Regions from separate parts of the Homo sapiens genome. Here region 2 is linked to region 1. The links are contacts of gene promoters, found by promoter capture Hi-C in blood cells and fetal thymus (Javierre and others, 2016). All regions are on one chromosome and are shown on one strand. The core of a region is centred on a gene start or on the middle of the fragment in contact, and the rest is flanking DNA. Distances in the headings are between cores, read along the strand shown.

Region 1 (5,713 bases), core at 2,372-4,871:
GTTGACTTAATAAATGTGCTGGAAATGAATCTATGGGGACAGAAAGCATATCAGTGATTGCTTGAGGGTAAGGTGAGGGTGATGGGACGTGGAAGGGTCCTAAGGAAGGATTTACAAAGGGTCAGGAGGAAACATTTGAGGTGTGGATATGTTCGCTGCTGTGACTGTGGTTATGATTTCATACGTGTGTGTGTGTGTGTGTGTGTGTGTTAAAATTTGTCAAATTGTGCACTTTAAACATGTGCAGTTTATTGTGCATAAATTATTCCTGAATAACACTGTCATTTAAGAAAGAGAAATGTGCTAGAACTCCTATGTCCAACTACTGAAATCATTTTCAGGGCCAGTTTACAAACTGGGCACTAAAATTAGTCTCATTAGTTTTAGTTACAGCTTTAACTTTATTAATTTATTTTAGAGACAAAGTCTTACTACCTTGGGCAGGCTGGTCTTGAACCCCTGGCCTCAAGTGATCCTCTTGCCTTAGCCTCCCAAAGTTCTGCGATTATAGGCATAAGTCACCACACCCAGCCTACCTCCAACATTTTTGTAAACCAAATATTATGTTATGTAATTTAATGATATCTTCAAATCATTAAAATTGATTTCAAATAACTTAGCCATTTTCAAAAATTAAGTGCGTCTTGAAGAGGTAAGTATTTGCTCCCATGAAGATGCACTCACAAATGGCTCTTATGAGAATTAACTACTTAGAAGGGAGCCTGATGGATTTAATAAGAATGGCCTAGATTTATTTTATAATTGTGCTTTGGTGGAAGGGCACAGAGGTTGGTCAGTTTGAGCAAAGGATCCTGGGGTCACTTCACCATTTACCTTTTTCCCTCCCCACAGAGAGGAAATGCCTGACATTTAAAGGACTAGTCCAGTTGCAGAGCAGAACATGTCCTGCTGTATACATAATTTTTTCACATGTAGATGTTTTGTGTTAATTTAAAGCCTTTATGTTGCATGATTATTTTTCCCCTGCAGTTTCTTGTGAAGCTGTAGCCAAGACTCCACTCTAGGCTCCATCTTTGTGCCATAACTCTGTCACTCTGTGGCTGCATTGGAGGAAGACGAATAATTATTCTAGCAGCATGACTTTCTGACTAACAAATTAAGCCCGATATTTATTAGTAATAACTGCTTTCTCTTACAGTGGATAATGAAAAACTGCAGGGGGGATTCATGTTGTGTTTCCTGGATGATGGATGTGGCATGAGCCCTGGTAAGTTAATTATCTAGATACCTAACTGGCTGTTAAAGGAAACAGTCTGAAAACCTACAAAATAAATAAATTGAGCTATCTATGCAAAAACAGGTATGGAGCTATTAAAGAAAGTAAGCCCCAGACTTTTTGTTGAACTTTTTAGGTTTAAGTATCCCAGCTGGCAGAGTAAATTTATTGTAACCATCTAAACCAAGACAAAAAGTAAATGTATATTAATATTGTCAGAAAAATGAAAGGCAAATGTTACTGATTGTAAGAAATAAGCATCTGGGAATGAATGGAAAACAAATAGTCACTGAATAGACTCTGAGATTGTTTTTAGCTCATCCTTTAGGTATTGCTTGTGAGAGCCCCAGGCAGTTTCCTGTGCCTGTAGGCTATTTTTAATTTTGCTTAACCTCGAGGTAGAGGTTTCCTCTCCTTGTTTTTAGCCTTGTTTTTTCCTCTGCATTTTGAAAGCTTTACTTGCTTCAAATGAATGTTCCCATCATAAAGAATACATCTACAATATATTTCATGACTTATCTTTGTGTATTCAAGGTTAGCACAAAGCCAGCACATTATGGGTATACAGTGTCTGTGTGCTGTGAAATTGAAATGTGATTCCATCTGAGGGCATTGGGTTGTTTTAGGTATTGTATTTCTGAATTCTTTAAACATGGTGTGTTCCACAAGCCAGGGTTTTTGACCACTAGATTTAAAAAATGGTGAGAGTTCAGTAATATGGAACTGCCATGGTCAGTTCCACAACTGAGGAAAGGATGCATCAGTATGCTCAAATATTGATTTGCTGATAGAAGCTGAAGATATGAGGTATGGCAAATATCTTATTTCAGCTCTGAAGTTTCCCCTTGGTCTGAATAGTTGAAGAGTATTAGCAAGTTTAGAAAGACTGTTTCACCCAGTTTTGTTCTGACTTCGGATAATTTTGATTTTTCCAGGTCATTTTGATTAAAAGTATTCTTGGTCTTTTATTGTTTAAATGAGAAAGAAGAGTTTGTAACAACAACAGAAAAAACCCATGCTGAAAAAAGTAATTTTTCACTTCTAGCCTGAATATTAAGTTCATTTTTTTGAATTCCTAAAATAAATGACAGAATATATGTGATATATTCTAAGGGAATTCCTTATGAAAAGAAGCAACTCTTTTTATATGGGTCATGAACAAAATGTTTGAAACACAGACAAGTGACGGATATTCAGACCTTCAGAAGGAACTCACACTTCAGTTACATAGTAGCATCAACTAGTAATAAAGTAGAAGGAAGATGACTAAAAGTAGAATCTATCCGTTGTTCAAACGGAGCTAGATCAATCTTGACCCATAGAAAATGACTACAGTACTTTCCGGGTTTTTAAAAAATTCTCTAGTCTTGCCCCTTTATAGTCCATTCCCCACACAGCATCCTGAGTGATTTTCTTTCTTTTAATGTACATTTTCCTGCTGAAAATGTACATTAATATCATTTTCCTGCTGAAAACCCTCAGTGGTTTTCCATTACTTAATACAATTTGTACTCTCAGCATCTCTTCCAAGACCTTACATTATTTGGCCCTATGCACCTCTTTGGCCTTTTCTTGTTCTTCCCACTTCCTCCCTTAGAACACTCCACCCACACATGGCTGACCCCTCATCGTTTGAATCCATCTCATGTTAACCATCTGCCAGTGGCCTTCCCTGATCATTCTGTCTGCAGGCCACGTTCCTGTTAATTCTCTATCGCATTACCCTGGTTTTGTTTTCTTCACTTAATACTCAGTCAGAAATGATCTTATTTATTAGTTTACTTTCAATCTGTTTCTCCTACCATGACATAGTGTTGTCCAAGGCAGGAGCCATGCCTGGCCTGTTCAGTGGTTTATTCCCATGCTCAGAACCGGGTAACCATGCACGTGAGTTCATGTAGTGTGTAATGAACACATGGGATTTGGTTCAGAGCTATACCATGTCTGTACCAAGACTTAGAACTTTGGGTTATAATCCTAGCTGTACCCTCTATCAGCTCTGTGACCTTGGGCAGGTTTTTAAAACTCCTTAGACTTACATTTGCTCATCTGTGACATGCAGGTCATAGTAATAATACCTTTCTTGTTTTGTTATAAATATTAAATAAGCTGTGCATGTAAGTATAAACATAGTACCTAGCATATACTAAACAATCAATAAGTGTTAGCTAAGATTGTCATTATGGATATCCTTACCTAATGCCTAACCCCTCATAGGAACATATCATAGGAGGTCCAGTTAGTTTCAGAGAAGCAGAATGTTTGGTGGCTTTTACACACCTCATACCATGTGCCACTGAACTATAGCATATCTGTACCCAGACTGACAGAGGGTCCTCAGGACAATTCTTCAGCATGTATTCAGGTAGGCCAACAAGAAGAACATTCTTGGTTCTGGAGATTGGTATTAATATATTCTGAAGTCCAGAGGATTACTGTCTAGAATTCCAGAATACCTGGAGAGGTCGGGAGAATGATTTGGAACGTCTGAAATGGTTAGCCTTCTTTCCCAGGTAGTATCAGAGCAGAGGTCATCCTGCCCCTCTTAGTCTCACATGGGCCTGGTTAAGGGCTAAATTCGTGGGGAAATTACTAGTGGTACAAGTAATTATAACACTTGTAATTTGGTAACACCCACCAAGTGCCAAGTTTTGTGTTCAGGATTTCACAAATACATCATCTCATTTCATTTGTTTCATTTATCTTCATCAGCAACACCGTGATATAAGTATTACGTAGTTGCCTCTTACACCACATGGAAATTAAGGCTCAGACTTTTAAACTCTACCTAAGGCCACATGGTTAGGTCTGTCTCATCTCTTTCAGTATACAGTTGTTTCTTAGTATCTGTAGGGAATGGATTCCAGGACCTTTCTAGGATACCAAAAGCTGTGGAAAGAAGATGGCACGGTATTTCCGTATAACCTATATATATCCTCCTGTATACTTTAAATCTTTTCCAGGTTCCTTATAATACCCAATGCAGTGTAAATGCTATTAAATAGTTGTTATACTTTGTTGTTTAGAGAATAATGACAAAAAAAAAGTCTGTACGTGGTCAGTCCAGACGCAATTTATTTTTTTCTGAATATTTTCAGTCCAAGATTAGTTGAGTCTATGAATGTGGAGCCTGCCGTACCTTGGGCTGACTGTAATACCATTAAGACCCTTGTCAGAGACTGTGGATTCTGATGAAAATCCTTGTCTCTGGGCTGACCCAAGAGCTATGGGTTTGTCCTGATGTTCTGAGGAATGTGAGGTCCTGACAGCTGGGCCTCAGGCCAGTGTCAAAGAGTCTTCCTAACCACCTTAAAAGTCACTGTCAATTACAGAGGAAGCTTCAGACATCATTTACTTTGGACGATCCAAAAAACGGCTGTCAACCTTGAAGTTCATAGGGCAATACGGCAATGGTCTTAAAAGGTGAGAATTTTTTTTCCCTTAAGACATATATTATTGATACTGGGAACACTGTTTATAAAGCAATTTACACAGAATGATGCAGGCATGTAAAGCTTTAAAAAATATATAAACTTGAGGCAGGGGTGACCTACTTTGTGTTGGAATCTCCATATACAAAACTGACTTTTTTTTTTTGAGACAGATTCTCACTCTGTCACCCTGGCTGGAGTGCAGTGGTGCGATCTTGGCTCACTGCAACCTCCGCCTCCTGGGTTCAAGTGATTCTCCTGCCTCAGCCTCCTGGGCAGCTGGGATTACAGGCATGAGCCACCATGCTCAGCTAATTTTTGTATTTTTGTAGAGACAGAGTTTCACCATGTTGGCCAGGCTAGTCTCGAACTCCTGACCTCAAGTAATCAGCCCGCCTCGGCCTCCCAAAGTACTGGAATTACAGGCATGAGCCACCACGCCCGGCCCATAACTGACTTTTATCTTTACAACATTTTAGGTTAATTCTCCCAAATAATAAAATAAATCCTCTTTCAAAGATTCCTGAAGCGGTACCCCTGTACTTTAGTGCTTTGTTGCATCTCTATGTTCTGTTGTTTCCCAAAGCATATTTTAACCTAGGTGCTGTGTCTGCAGCTCTTTGTTTTAGTATGCTGCATTGAAAGGTCAGGACATGAGGCTCACTTGTACGGCTCCTACCTGAGACAGATGATTGTTCTTTTGAGCCCTGAATGGACCCTTTCCCCTGCAGCCAAACCTCAAGCAAGAGTGTGGAGCTGGCTTAGTTCAAATTCTTCTGCTTTACTTTGAAAAAAAAAAAATTGTACCCTCTTGATGACGGGTCAGCAGAACAGAGTGTTGGAAAGAACATCCTGTTACAGTACACGGTGATAACAGTCTGCCTGTTTCTTCCTTTTTAGTATTTGAGGTGTAAAACATGATGTTCTTCATTTTTAATATAGTGGGTCCATGAGAATTGGAAAAGACTTTATTCTTTTTACGAAGAAGGAAGAAACGATGACCTGTGTGTTTTTTTCTCAGACATTCTGTGAAGAAGAAAGTCTT
Region 2 (5,713 bases), core at 2,302-4,801, 2.4 Mb before region 1:
TTATATGTTGACTGGGAACACTATAAGAGTTACATGGAATATTAATTTCAGCCCCCCACTGCGCCAGCAAATCTCTACCCCAAATATTAATGGGGGTTGGTGTGATATAAGGCTGAATTGTACCCTTTTGACCATCAGCACCAGTGCAAGGCAAGATAAATGTGCTCTGGTGAAATTCATCAGCTTTTCCAACACCTACTAGTCCCATGTTAGCGGGATGTTTAAGCCAGGAGGAAGGCCATAAATTAGAGGAAATAATAGAAACATCAGCCCCAGTATCTACTAGGCCGTCAAACTTTTTTCCTTGAATGTGTATGGTGCAGGTGGGCTGTTGTTTAGAAATTACATTAATCCTATAAGCAGCTTTTTCACTGCCGGAGCCCATCGCAGGGCCCCATGTCTTATCTCCTTTGTTTAAAATAATATTAGGTAGTAAAAGTAATTGAGCAATTGACTCACCGGCCAAAATGGAAACAGGAACTTTGGCAGACACCATAAGTTTAATCTCATCAGAGGAATCAGAATTAATGAGACCAGTATGAACTATGATACCGTCAGCAGAGGTGGATGCCCTGCCTAACACCAGGCCCACTGAACCTTGAGGTAAAGGGCCAATAACCCCCGTGGGGACAATTAAAGGGAAAGAATTAGGTAGTAAATTTAGAGGACTGGTACTACAGAGATCGACCGCCCTGCCCCCTACTGTGGAGTTCTAATATTCCCTTTTTAGGAAACCAAGGACAGTGTTCTTCCACCGCCCTGAATAGGGTGACCATATTTTCTATGGGCACTCAAACTCCTCCCTGTTTTAACAGGAATTTAATATAGCAGAGATAAGCATAATGTTTAGACTCCATGTGACCCATAGTTACCCTGGACAATACACAGACAACTCACCAATCATCAGGGAGCTGAACAAGCATTTCTGTGTGCCAGCCCAATGAAAATTTCTCCACACCTACCAAAGGGAATTGGGTTCCCACATGCACTTAGGAAAAAGAAAACCACATTGGTGTGCCAGATATCAGGGGAACCTGCCCCCAGTATTTAAACGTAGGTGCTTTCTATATTCCATAAGTGTCGGCTGGCTGAGAAATAAAGAGAAAGAATACAAAGAGAGGAATTTTATAGCTGGGCCACCGGGGGTGACATCACATGTCAGTAGGACTGTGATGCCCACCCGAGCCTCAAAACCAGCAGGTTTTTATTAAGGATTTCAAAAGGAGAGGGGATGTACGAACAAGGAATAAGTCACAAAGATCACATGCTTCAAAGGGCAAAAAGCAGAACAAAGATTACATGCTTCTGAGGAAACAGGACAAAGGGCAAAAGGCAGAACTTCTGATAAGGGTCTATGTTCAGTGATGCACATATTGTCTTGATAAACATCTTAACAGAAAACAGGGTTTGAGAGCAGAGAACCAGTCTGACCAAAAATTTACCAGGATGGAATTTCCCAATCCTAGTAAGCCTGAGGGTACTGCAGGAGACCAGAGCTTATCTTAGTCCTTATCTCAACCACATAGGGTAGACATTCCCAGAGCAGCCATTTATAGACCTTCCTCCAGGAATGAATTCCTTTCCCAGAGTATTAATATCAATATTCCTTGCTAGGAAAAGAATTTAGCGATATCTTCCCTACTTGCATGTCTGTTTATAGGCTCTCTGCAAGAAGAAAAATGTGGCTCTTTTTGCCCGACCCTGCAGGCAGTCAGACCTTATGGTTGTCTTCCCCTGTTTCCTAAAAATCAGTGTTATTCTGTTCCTTTTCAAGGTGCACTAATTTCATATTGTTCAAACACACATATTTTACCATGAATTTGTACAGTTAACACAATTATCATAGTGTTCCTGAGGTGACATACATCCTCAGCTTACAAAGATAACAGGATTAAGACATCAAAGTAAGACAGGCATAAGAAATTATAAAAGTATTATTAGGGAACTGATAACTCTCCCTGAAATCTTCATGATTTATGTTCCTCTGCCGTGGCTCCAGCCGATCCCTCTGTTTGGGGTCCCTGACTTCCTGCAGCAATGCTAAATCTCTCTAAGCCTCTGTGTTCTAGCATCTCTTAAATGGGTATGTGTGAAGACTGATGACATGTAAAGTGCCTGGCATCCAAGTAAGCCAGGTGCAAAACAAGCTATTCTTAGCATAAAATGCATAGTCCTTTTTGTTTTTCTAATGATAACAACAACTTTTGGCCAAAATGTTATTTTATATGAATTGCCTAATTCTTTCCTTGATGAAAACAAATGTGAACTTATTTTTCTTTCCCCGTATCAACTGTACAGATTCAAAAGAGCTGAAGAAGAGTGATCTGTATACTGGTTAGTGCCATCCATCATTAACCAAAGTTCCCAGCTCTGTTTTGGACCCCTAAGACAGTCAGTGATATATGGAACAAAAGGTGGTCAAAGAAAGTGATTTTCAGGCAAAGATTTGAGCTCACATCATGAACAATTTAGAAAGTCACCTTTTGCCCTAAGGAAGAAGTTGGGGAAATGGCAAAAGTGGCAGAACACTGCAATGTCATCTTTCTAAGCAATGTTATGTATGGGGTACAATTAGGAGCTTAGAATTTGGGTGGAAACAAACTTTAGCTTAGTATCTAGGATTTACCCAGCTTTTAGTTGAATGACCTTGGTCAAGTAACTTAAATTCTTTCAGCTTTAGTTTCCTTACATATAAAATTATGGTAATGACAATGCCTTCCTTCAAGATTGCTGTGAAAATTCAAAGGGATTACATATGTGAAAGTTTCTGGTGTAGTGTCTGGCCCATAGCACAGCTAACAAAGTCACAATAATGCTAAGAAAAGTAAGAAGCAAGAGAGAGGAGTCAAGGGAAGGAAGGCAGTTTCTAGATATAGCTCTCCTCCAACTCAGTGATGTTGGATAGATAGGTCATTTAATTTTCTGGGCTTGCATTTCCTCATTAGTAAAATGGTAAACTGCTAAAGATTACATAAATGAAAATGGCCTCCTAGTTCATTGATTCAATACGAGTTTAATAGTCATCACCAAATGACTTGGCCTGCCATTAAGTTATAAAATATAAGATTTCCATGAAATATATAGAAAATGATAGGCCATGTAAAACAGAAAATTATAATAAATTATATGAATAAATATCTTAGTTTTGGCAGATGTAGTCTGTAATCCCTTAATGCATTTTTTCTCCCTGAACTAAGGAGGTCTTTTCAATGCTCCTTAAAAAATCAATGCTGCAGTAAATTAATCACAGCCTGCTGCTGTGATTGGATTAATGAGAAGATCTTGCTAGGGCTTACATAAAAGTCTAAAGTAAACAGCTACCCAATACACAGATCTACTGGTTTGAGCACAGAAATGCTATAAAAATCTTAATAAATCCATCTGCTTAAAAGAAACAAAACCCCTTACTAAACAAGAAGAAGCTTCAACTTCAGATTCTCTGTCCTTTTGACCCCTTATCAATTTTGTTCAAATCAAATTTAAGTTTTATTAAAAGCATAGATCCCATAGAAGTCATAGGAAAGTTAGCCAATGCATCTGCCCCAGTTGCTTCCTGGGGTGATGACGACTCTAGACTCTTTAACATACATCAGATGAATGTCTAAATTTTCATCAAATTCACTTGTGAATTTAAAGAAGCCTCAGAACATTCAATATTGGAATCTTTTAAGCTAAGCTTGAGAAAGTCTCTTAAGCTTCCACTGTAATAGAAAGAAAGGTACAGCTAAGAAACTGAGTCCCCACTAATTTGCATGATTCAAGATGTTCAGCATAAAAGTTCAGGGAATGAGGAGTCAATATGCACTCAGAGGTTGCCATAATGCTCTGCTTTATCGTGTTTTACTTTCCCCACAAAGCAAGTGACAAAATGGGAATAAAGCCAGATGAATCTATTCTTATTAGATTGGGCCCACAATCTCATATTGGGTTTTAGATACTGGATTTCCTGCCAGCTTCTTGTATTGTCTGCTTATTGCTTTCAAGGAAGCCAGCAATGGCCTGGGATAACAGTGTGTCTGTGGTATGAGACATCTTAAATGGATGACACAATTTCCCTGGGCTCTGCTGCCAGTGGAGTTCCCTAAGCAAGTTAGTGTTTATGTGCTGCTGATGTTTGCGGGCCGGACAGGAATGATCTTTGCCTAGAATAATGATATCATCAAAGAAAGTGGGAACACAAAGATAAATATTCTTACAGATGACATTTACTCAGGGACCGTATTGTCTATCTGAGTGAGGAGCTGTTTTCTTTTGGTTAAGTTTCAAAGATTCTTTCTGCACTGATTTTCCCTCTCATTTCCTCTTATGTTGTTATGAAATACACTTGCCTTTGACGTATCCTTTATATCCAATTGTGGGATATTCCTCTTTCCCACATCAAATATGACATATGCTCCCCAAATCCACATGTTGTAGACTTGGTCCTTTAATAATTTTCTGACATAAACTTGATCTGTGTGGCTCAAGGCTTCAGTGTGACAAAACAATAAAGCACTTTTTTTTCCGTTTAAATTATACTTGAGCCTTGGTCTGGCTACTCTTCTTATAAATGTAAGTTTGATAATAAAAGTCCTAATGTTTGCTGATAGGTTGAAAAAAACCCAATATTTTTCATTAATTTAAATTTCAAAGACACTTCTGACATGGATGCCGAGAAAACAGGAGGCAATCAAATCAGTACAAAACCTAGATATTAGTAATGCTTTGTTAAAAATTAAAGTTCCTGGGGCTAGAAGTTGTGGATGGATGGGTAGGAAGAGAGAGGTGAGGGGGCACCACATCTCTTAACCAGAAGATTCCTTCATCTCCTATTAGCTCCTTCCAGGATTGCTGGTCCCCCTGGCATTAGCAGCTGACTGTCCCCTCTATCCAGCAGTGTCTTGCAGGACAAAGGCCAGCCTCACACCTGCTGCACTGGTCTTCACCTCTCTGTCCCAGCAATGCAACCACAGACCTATTGGGTAAAGCCCACCTGGCTGGAATGGAGGTTAGCTCTTTCCTCTCCTGACACCCTTTGCTCAGAAAGTGGGGCTTCTGTGGACCTTGGTCTGGCTTTCAGGGTAAGTCCAGGGCTGTGCTCTCTTGCCCCCATTCCTAACTCCATACACGCTTCTGTGGCTAGCCTTTTCCCATCTTCTTCGTAGGTGATTCCATCTTCTACTCTTGCAATCTTAACCTTTCAGCAGTCCTGTTTTCTTTCTTCTTTTATTCTCTGTCTACACTCCCAACTTCATTTATCACTAGTAAGTTCAAATATGCAGTGCCAGGGTAGTGGTGTGCACAGAGGCTAAACTTTAAGTCAGAAGGCAAAGAGGGAGAGGATTCTTTGGAGAAAAAAAAAGAGGATGAAAGATAGCAAGAGGGGGAAGCAGTTAAGTATTATTGGGATGAGACTTTTTTCATAAGACGAAATTTATATTAGGTTGTAGGAAGCAGAGAGTGAAGAGGAAGAGACTAATAATTCAAGAAACAGGAAAAAACTCACAGGGAAGTATTTGGGAGATTAAGAGAGTGCAATAGAGCACTGATGGGGTACGCAGACTGAATAGGGAAGTTTTTGCTCTATAGCAGGGTGGTTATCAGAGAAATTATGGTAAAATTGAGATGTGGAGAGTAAGAAAGTTGAAGTTCTGACTTGAACCTCCAACCTTATGTATAAATAGAAGGGAAGATGGGTTATTTGTGAAAATCAGTGAGGAAGGAGCCCTAAGGA

The links. The method cuts DNA at HindIII sites, captures the fragments that hold promoters and counts their contacts. A CHiCAGO score of 5 or more calls a contact.
Region 2: a fragment that was not itself captured here is called in contact with the fragment with the promoter of MORC1-AS1 in region 1 in 1 of 17 cell types (total B cells); the score reaches 6.7 in total B cells.

Annotation. Positions count from the first base shown.
Region 1 is chr3:109,099,364-109,105,076 of GRCh38, reverse strand. It overlaps MORC1-AS1 (MORC1 antisense RNA 1), which reads right to left and starts at 3,621. Exons shown (of 3, transcript NR_144461.1): 1 at 3,518-3,621. It overlaps MORC1 (MORC family CW-type zinc finger 1), which reads left to right. Exons shown (of 28, transcript NM_014429.4): 4 at 1,160-1,228; 5 at 4,570-4,660; 6 at 5,611-5,713. The HindIII fragment of the contact is 2,885 bases long and covers 1,693-4,577 here.
Region 2 is chr3:111,520,469-111,526,181 of GRCh38, reverse strand. All of the region lies in intron 2 of LOC105374039 (a long non-coding RNA gene), which reads right to left. Among named protein-coding and RNA genes, the nearest start is that of CD96, 19 kb to the left of the region's middle. The HindIII fragment of the contact is 254 bases long and covers 3,425-3,678 here.